Regions from separate parts of the Homo sapiens genome. Here regions 2 and 3 are each linked to region 1. The links are contacts of gene promoters, found by promoter capture Hi-C in human tissues and cell types (Jung and others, 2019). All regions are on one chromosome and are shown on one strand. Each heading gives the region's core, a stretch centred on a gene start or on the middle of the fragment in contact. The rest is flanking DNA. Distances are from core to core; before and after follow the strand shown. Region 1 holds the start of AKAP5 (A-kinase anchoring protein 5). Region 2 has its middle 59 kb from the start of PLEKHG3. Region 3 has its middle 76 kb from the start of PPP1R36.

Region 1 (2,821 bases), core at 100-2,599:
GATTATCCAACAAAGATCCTATGAATTTTAGTGGGTGGATGCCCTAAAATAAGCAAAGGGACTCATTCTTTATATTGTTTTTATGTAAATCCTTCACTGAAGTTTCATTTGGGTAACCCATAATTTTATGAACTGTAGAAGGAACTGGAACCCTGAAAATCAGTTTATGATCTAAGTAAATATTATCTTAGGTTGGGTGTTTCATACTGTGTGCCTCTAACAGAAAGATAAAGTCATTCTAGAACAATGACGGAACTAAAATATGAACATTTGACAGTGTTTCTCCTCACAATGTTTCAGTGAGCACTAGAACCTAAGCTGATAACTGTTTAAATCTTCTCACCTCTTGTGAGTTTTCAGCACCTGAGCATTTTTGTTAAGCAGAGGCTGTATTACCACATAATAGAAATATTGAAATGAGATGTTTAGGAGTCTGTCATTGGAAACTAACCTGGATTGCGCAAAGACAATCGTTTGAGAAGCTCACTTGAATGTATCTCACATACTAGAAATAAAACGAATACCCAAACAGAAACTTAACTAACGAGGGAAAATAATGCAGTCTGTAGACAATAAAACTTTGCAGAATGTCAGACTGCAAATGATTCGCTCTTAACCAGCAAGGGTAGCTTTATCGCCTCAGGAAATCTTAAAGTCCCTGTGCTCATTTCCTGATGGAATTGCAAGTCTCATGTCACAGAAAACACCCCCTTTCCTTTTTCCCTTGAGCAGCCAGTACCCGAGGAAAGCAATGCATCTTTCCCAGCACCAGATACGGACCACGAAGCTTCCTCCTGGAGGAAGGAATCTCGAATTCTGGCTTGACGCCCCTTATGGCAGGAGACAGAGCGCAGGATAAAGTACTCAAAAAGGAAAATGCCGGGGGCGTGGAACAGATAACCCAGCTTCAGGCTGTCTGCAGAATTATAATGTAATGGCCAGAAACCCAAAATCACATTTCTCAAAGAGGGATAAAGAAGGAAAAAAGCCACCGGCAACCCATGCTTCTAAGACAAGCTGTAACGCGAAGGGGATAGGTGGGCAGACCTGATGAGGGTCGCCCTGGCCGCGGATTCCAGCGGACAAGCGACCTCCCGCGTTCTTACTCCCAGCACCTCAGAGGGCTCGGATACCCCGTATCCAGTGGGCACCTCTTGCCCACTCCGCGGTCCGCGGACCGGACATTGCCCCCGACCCTCCTCCCCCGCAGGCTCCCCGCCCTGCCTTTACTTACGTAGGGCGTCGGGGTCCTTGGCCAACACTGCTCCCGAGGTGGCGGCGCGCTCGCGGGGCCCGCCGCCCAGGCCTCCAGGGAGCCGCGGTCGCACCCGGAGCAAGGCGCCCTCTGCAGAGCCCGCCGCCGGGTGCGCCCCCTCCCCACCGCGCGGGGACAGACAGCAGGCAGCGCCAATGCGAGCGGAGCGGAGCGGGCGGGCAGGGGCGGGGCGACCGCCGGAGGCGCGGGGCGGCGCGGGCGCCGGGACCCACCTGCAGCAGCAGCCTGCCTGCCTGCCGCGGGGAAGCCCATCGTGCTCCGCCCGGGCGCCAATCTCCACTGCCAGACCACATCAGCGCCGAGGCGGGGACCGCAAGAGAGCCAGCCGGAAGGTTCGGGGGGCGGGGGAAGGCGGGGGGGACCAGGGCAATGAACCCCGCGTTTTCTGAGACGCTAAATAGTGAGGTCCGGTTTCAAATTATAGACAGTCGCATTACACATCTCCTCTCCTCCCCCTCAGAATATTTAAAGACAAGGCAGACATCGCATTTTAAAAGCAGGATTCAAAACTGTGCATAGAATAGCGAGGTCATGTTTGTTTGAAGCGAAAATTACATATATAAATGGAAACAGAAAGAAACCCGACTTTCTCAGGAGTGGCTTGAGTGTCAGATCATCGTGGTTCATCGCCAAACAGGCTTTCAAACCTTTGTCTCCCAGTGGGAAGCAGGTGGAGGTGATTGGTGCAGAACTTTGGCCTGCAGGAGCAGCTGCATCTCTATGCGGACAAGGTGAGAAAGGCACAGGAACCCAGCTCCATCCATCTTATACCTTACATAGTTCCAAAAATAAGTTGAGGTAGCTTACAAGTTACCCATGATTCCCTTCAGGACATTCCCTATGAGGGCATTCCTGGGAGCTCCAGCTGTAAAATCTAGTAGGATCCATCACAATCCCAGCCTCCTCCTCTGGCCCCCATAGCATAGCATCCAGATGAAGAACCTGGTAAGGTGAAGTGAAGAACTACTGAAAAGCAGCCGCGTTCATCTCCTTTCTTCAACAGGATCACGACCTTAGGGAGTGTAAATGTCAGGTGTCCATTTTTGTATTTTTTCCGGAAATGTTTTATATTTGTAAGATTCTGTAGTTTCCACAGAGGCTTATCAAGGAAAGAACTCTTGAGACACAAAAGCAAAGCCAAATATAAGCTGTCAAGATCTTAAAATTACAGATAAAAGAGGCAAGAGTTGTAAAACAGGAAAATCCATAAGCATCTAGTTTAGTTGTAATTAAGAATTCAGGGATGGGCGCAGTAGCTCACACCTGTAATCCCAGCACTTTGGGAGGCCAAGGCAGGAGGATGGCTTGAGTCCAAGAGTTTGAGACCAGCCTGGGCAACATAGGGAGACAAAAAAATCTAAAAAATTAGCTGGGCATGGTGGTGCACGTATGGTCCCAGTTACTCAGGAGCTCAGGAGGCTGAGAAGGGAGGATCACTTGGGCCCAGAAGGTCAAGGCTGCTGTGAGCCACTACTGCACCACTGCACGCCAGCCTGGGCAACAAAGTGAGACCCTGCCTCAAAAAAAAAAAAAAATTCAGTCAGC
Region 2 (2,821 bases), core at 123-2,622, 180 kb before region 1:
AAAAAGCACTGCGGTCGAGATAAATGATGCAGTGAGGATTCAACCAGCCATATCCAGCATGTGGGGATTGCAGAGGACAAACGACCTGGTTTCTTTAACACATAAATGTAATTGAAAGAAGGCAAGGGGGTAAGGGAGAAATGACAACGGATTAAGAAATACTTAAGAGATATATCAACCAAATGCAATGTGAGAACTTTATTTAGATCAGGATGTAAAAAAAATAACTGTAAAAAGATATTTTTAAAGATATTGGGGGGCGCTGGGCGTGGTGGCTCACGCCTGTAATCCCAGCACTTTGGGAGACCGAGACGAGAGGACCACTTCAGCCCAGGAGTTCAAGACTAACCTGGGCAACATAGCGAGACCCTGTTTCTATTTAAAAAAAAAAAAAACACAAGATATTAGGGTAATTTGCAACACAGATTATAAATGAGATGAGGTGATGGAATTACTAATTTTGTTAGGCATGGTCATTTCATTATTGGTATGGTAGTTATAAAGTTCTTACCTGCTAGAGATGGAAACTTGAAGCCAGATGAAATAATATGATGTCTAGTATTTGCTTTAGGACTCTAAGCCTAGTGCAGTGGCTCACACCTGTAATCATGGCACTTTGGGAGGCTGAGGTGGGAGGATCGCTTGAGCCCAGGAATTGAAGACCAGCCTCAGCAATATAGCAAGACTCTGACTCTACTACTACTACTACTACTAATAATAATAATAAAAATTAGCCAGGTGTGGTGGTGCACACCTATGGTCCCAGCAATGACTCTAGTGTAGGGGCCAGCAAATTTTTTCTGTAAAGGACCGGATAGCAAATATTTTAGCTTTTGAGGGCCATATGGTCTCTATCATGACTGCTCAGCCTTGCTGTTGTGTTGCAAAAGCAGCTATGGAAAATACATAAGTGAATGGCATGGCCGTGTTGCAATAAAACTTTGTTTACAAGAACAGGAGGCAGGCTGGATTTGGCCCATGGGATTGTCATTTACCAATCCCAGCTCTACCGCAAAAAAAAAGGAGGGGGCAGATAGGTGAAAAAGATGTACAAAATGTCGATATTTGTTGAAGCCGGATGACTTAATACATGGTAGTTCATTTCACTATCTTCTCTATTTTTGTATGTTTGAATATTTCCGTACCTAAAAAATATTCAAATGCATGGAAGAGATCTTTTTGCAGAAAAAGGCCTTTCACCTCCCTCCTTCTCTCTTTATCTCCCCCACTTCTTTTACCTTTGCCTGTCATTTTCTCAGGGCTGTTTCAGATGCCCACTGGCACACACACTTGCACTTCAATGTATTTTCAAAATCAGAGTGAATGTCCTAGGCAGCCCCACTGCTGAGGAATGCCACAGAATTCTGCAGCAAACCCTTAGGATGGGGTCGCAGATGGTTTCCCAAGAGACTCCCAGGCCATTTCCTCTCCGAGTTTTATACCCTTGTAAACACTTTTCCTAAAATGGAGTTTCCAGTCCTGGGGGCTGAAGCAAACCGCCCTCAGGGAAGCACTGTTGTTTTCTTCTTTCTCAGCAGGAAACAGGAATGTCCTGGGGAGTGTTAGAAATTTACCAGACGGCTCTGGTGAAGGGCTGGGAACTTCAGCTGGAATTTGGAATATGGTCAGCATCTGGGAGTTCAAAGGAAAAAATGTGAAGCTATTCATCAGACTCCATAAATTCTCTTAAAAGTAGATCATTATAAAATAAAGAGGAGACACTAGGTCATGTTGTCAGGTTAAAGGAATTACGCACATCTCCCATGAAACTGCCCTGAATGCGTAGGCGGAGCACATATGTCATTTCAAATTGTGGGTGGCAGCTCTACTAAGGAAAGAACAGCCTTTAACCCTTCTTTTCCAAGATCCTTCAGGGCATGACGGGGCCTCTGCAAAAGCTGGCCCTACCCTGTCTTCCCCGTGCAGGAACTGGGTGCTCTCTACCTGTCCTTAGCATGTGCCTCTGCCCCCGCCTGGCAGTGGTACAGGAAAGGGGACCCAATCCAGACCCCAAGAGAGGGTTCTTGGATCTCACACAAGAAAGAATTCAGGGCAAGTCCATAGAGTAAAGTGAAGCAAGTTTATTAGGAAAGTAAAGGAACAAAAGAATGGCTACTTCATGGACAGAGCAGCCCCGAGGGCTGCTGGTTGCCCATTTTTTGTGTTTATTTCTTGATTACATGCTAAACAAGGGGTGGATTATTCACGCCTCCCTTTTTAGACCATATAGGATAACTTCCTGTCATTGCCATGGCATTTGTAAACCATCATGGCGCTGGTGGGAGTGTAGCAGTGAGGATGACCAGAGGCCAGTCTCGTGGCCATCTTGGTTCTGGTGAGATTTAGCCGGCTTCTTTACTGCAACCTGTTTTATCAGCAAGGTCTTCATGACCTGTGTCTTGTGCCGACCTCCTATCTCATCCTGTGACTAGAATGCCTAACCTTCTGGGAATGCAGCCTAGTAGGTTTCAGCCTTATTTTACCCAGCCCCTATTCAAGATGGAGTTGTTCTCGTTCGCATGCCTCTGACAGTAGGATCTTGCTCTCTCTAGTCACTTATCTAAGCTCAGCGTTCCATCTGAGTTCTAGCTCTTGTTGAAGGTAAGAGACCTTTCCTGTCCATGCCAGCTCCTGGTAGGCTCTCTTCTCATGAGCTTCTCCAGCACATTCTGATGGTACCATCTGTTATCACATAATGTGTTTTGCCCTATTTACCACCTAGGAGAATGAATGCTGGCTGCTGTAACAGATGATCCAAATTCTCAGTCGATTAACACAATAAAAGTTATTTTCACTCGTCACAATACAAGGTGACTGTTCC
Region 3 (2,821 bases), core at 200-2,699, 160 kb before region 1:
TAAAAAACCTCCTGTGGCCCTCTTGAAGACAGGTTCATATCTGATTCATTTTTGTATCCCAAACATCTATTATTGTGCCCAGCATATAGTAGGCACTCAGTAAATGTTAAATGGATGGAGTGATCTGGAATTTGGGCTCTGCAAAAATTTTGCCATGACTTTCTCCAGGTCATAACCTTTTAAAAAGGCTTCTAGCCTATATCAGGGTAAATGCTTACTTAATTCAATAAAAAGTATATATTTACTTAGTACCTACTATGTGACAAGCACATAGGTCTCCAATACTCCTGACAAAGGAACTGTAAGTGGTTTTTACACCTATGGGAACAGTAAAGATGGTGATTCTCTTTCCCTTATCATGCTTCTAACATAGCACAGTGGATCCCCACCCCCAGACTAGAGGTTACAGCAATAAATAAAACAGCAAACCCCTCCACCTCACCCTCTTGAAGCTTATATTGTCTTTTCATTTGAAGAAAGCCTCACTGGGCACCTCCCCTTGGCAGTGCCATTATGACACTTCTTGCTGATAGTGTTTGTATTAGTCCATTCTCATGCTGCTAATAAAGACATACCCAAGACTGGGTAATTTATAAAGAAAAGAGGTTTAATTGACTCGTAGTTCAGCAGGGCTCGGGAGGCCTCCAGAAACTTAACAGTCATGGCAGAAAGGGAAGCAAACATGTCCTTCTTCACATGGTGGTAGCAAGAAGTGCCAAGCAAAAGGGGGGAAAAAAGCCCTTAAAAACCATCAGATCTCATGAGAACTCACTCACTATCACAGGAACAGCAGCATGGGGGTAACCGTCCCCATGATTCAATTACCTCCCACCAGGTCCCTCTCACAACATGTGGGGATTATGGGAGCTACAATTCAAGATGAGATTTGGGTAGGGACACAGCCAAACTGTATCAGTGGTGAAGACTAGACCTGTCCTCTTAGAGTTATCATACAATCCAGATGAATAAATACACAGGTAAAAATAAAAGGCAACTCCCACACAAAAACCAAACTACAGTGGCTCCCGGCTCCCAGCTCCCAGGCAGGCTGAGAGCCCCAGGGCCACTGGCTCAGGTGCATGTTTTCCTGAGCAGCCCTTCAGACCCGGCAGAGGCCCTCACGGAGCAAGTCGGGGGGCACTCCCAGTGTTCTCCTCTGGCTTCACCCCTCACACATGCTGGGCTCCTGCCTCTTCCTCCCTCCTGCTCCAGATCCAGAAGAAGGGCCTGGGCAGGCCCCGTGGTACTCCTGACTTGCCTGGGCTGTTGTTAGCATAGAGATCAAAAAGAGAAAGTGCAGCCAGGGGGTGCGGGGAGAAGCTGGTGAGCCGAGGCAAGAGCTGGCTCCGGAGTTGGCAGCAGCCAGGACACCCAGGTCAAGTGCAAGGAAACAGCGCAGAGGCACTGAGACCGACAAGAGACCCAAGGTCACAGAGCTCACCGCGCATGTCCTTCCTGTTATTTTCCCTCCATGTGCAGAGTTTAAAGTATGAAATCCCTGTAGCTGTGAAAGCGGGGAGACATAAGAGTCTGTTGCCTCAGGGAGAATCTTACTATTGGATTACAAAGGCTCAATATGGAACTCAGAGGGTGGGGCAGATCAGCTCTGGATTCTTTCCTTCTATTTGCCTTTCTGCCCCTACCTACAAGACAAACAGAGCAGCCTGTTGTCTGACCTCCTCAAGCCTATAAGAGTCTCTGCACAAATCTTCACCATTCTTCGGCAGCTCTTTCTGGGGTATCTTCCTGCCCCTCACCTTCCACCCCGGCTAGCCTTTGGCTCACCCTCTGTCCAACCCCACACCTGACCCCAGCTTCTGAAATGAGCTATTCTTATTTCTGAGACTATATATGCATGTATTGGGTCACTTGGGGCCAGCGTGGGGGAGCTGGGATTTAGGGGCTCCTTCACCTTCAGGAGTTCAAATCGTCATTTGATTTAGGGGTAGGCCTGCAGCCTAACAGGGTTCTGTTATTTGGTTAAACCAGTTGAAGCAGAAAGGAAGCATTTCAAAGTAAAGGAAGGGGCCACAGCGTCAGCCCCTGGAAGGGCTCAGCTCACCCTCACTTTCACACAGTGTAGAATAGCTTGATTGTTTTCCTTCCTTTCTTGAATAACTCTTCCTTAATTTTTTTTCCCAGAGATAAGTTCTGTCCCCCAGGCTGGAGTGCAGTGGCGTGATCATAGCTCACTGCAACCTTGAACTCCTGGGCTCAAGTGATCCTCCCACCTCAGCCTCCCAAGTAGCCAGGACGACAGGTGCATGCCACCATGCCTGGCTCATTTTTTAAAAATTTTTTGTAGAGACAAGGTCTCACTATGTTGCCCAGGCTGGTCTCAAACTCCTCATTACAAGTTATCCTCCTGCCTTGGCCTCCCAAAGTGCTGGGATTCCAGGCGTGAACCACCACGCTCAGCCTCTTGCTTGATTTTTTTCTTTCTTTTTTTTTGAGATGGAGTCTCACTCTGTTGCCCAGGCTGGAGTGCAGTGGCACAATCTGGGCTCACTGCAAGCTCCGCCTCCCGAGTTCATGCCATTCTCCTGCCTCAGCCTCCTGAGTAGCTGGGACTACAGGCACCCACCACCACACCCGGCTAATTTTTTTTGTATTTTTAGTAGAGACGGGGTTTCACCATGTTAGCCAGCATGGTCTCAATCTCCTGACCTCATGATCCTCCCTCCTCAGCCTCCCAAAGTGCTGGGATTACAGGCGTGAGCCACTGCGACCGGCCTCTCTTCCTTGATTTTTAAGACTCAGTTCAAAGAGCTCTTCTGATTCTCCTTCCATGAGCCCTCCAGGCCACAGTGACCTCAAACTG

What was found. Contacts are between HindIII fragments. The study calls those that stand out against the background at their distance.
Region 2: a fragment that was not itself captured here is called in contact with the fragment with the promoter of AKAP5 in region 1 in 1 of the 25 tissues and cell types used here (hippocampus).
Region 3: a contact is called between a fragment that was not itself captured here and the fragment with the promoter of AKAP5 in region 1, in 1 of the 25 tissues and cell types used here (liver).

Annotation. Positions count from the first base shown.
Region 1 is chr14:64,464,027-64,466,847 of GRCh38, reverse strand. It overlaps AKAP5 (A-kinase anchoring protein 5), which reads right to left and starts at 1,349. Exons shown (of 2, transcript NM_004857.3): 1 at 1,235-1,349. It also overlaps a transcript of ZBTB25 not described here. RefSeq lists silencers at 1,075-1,144, 1,155-1,554. The HindIII fragment of the contact is 11,787 bases long and covers 313-2,821 here.
Region 2 is chr14:64,644,413-64,647,233 of GRCh38, reverse strand. No RefSeq gene overlaps it. Among named protein-coding and RNA genes, the nearest start is that of PLEKHG3, 59 kb to the left of the region's middle. The HindIII fragment of the contact is 5,708 bases long and covers 1-2,821 here.
Region 3 is chr14:64,624,340-64,627,160 of GRCh38, reverse strand. No RefSeq gene overlaps it. Among named protein-coding and RNA genes, the nearest start is that of PPP1R36, 76 kb to the right of the region's middle. The HindIII fragment of the contact is 6,462 bases long and covers 1-2,821 here.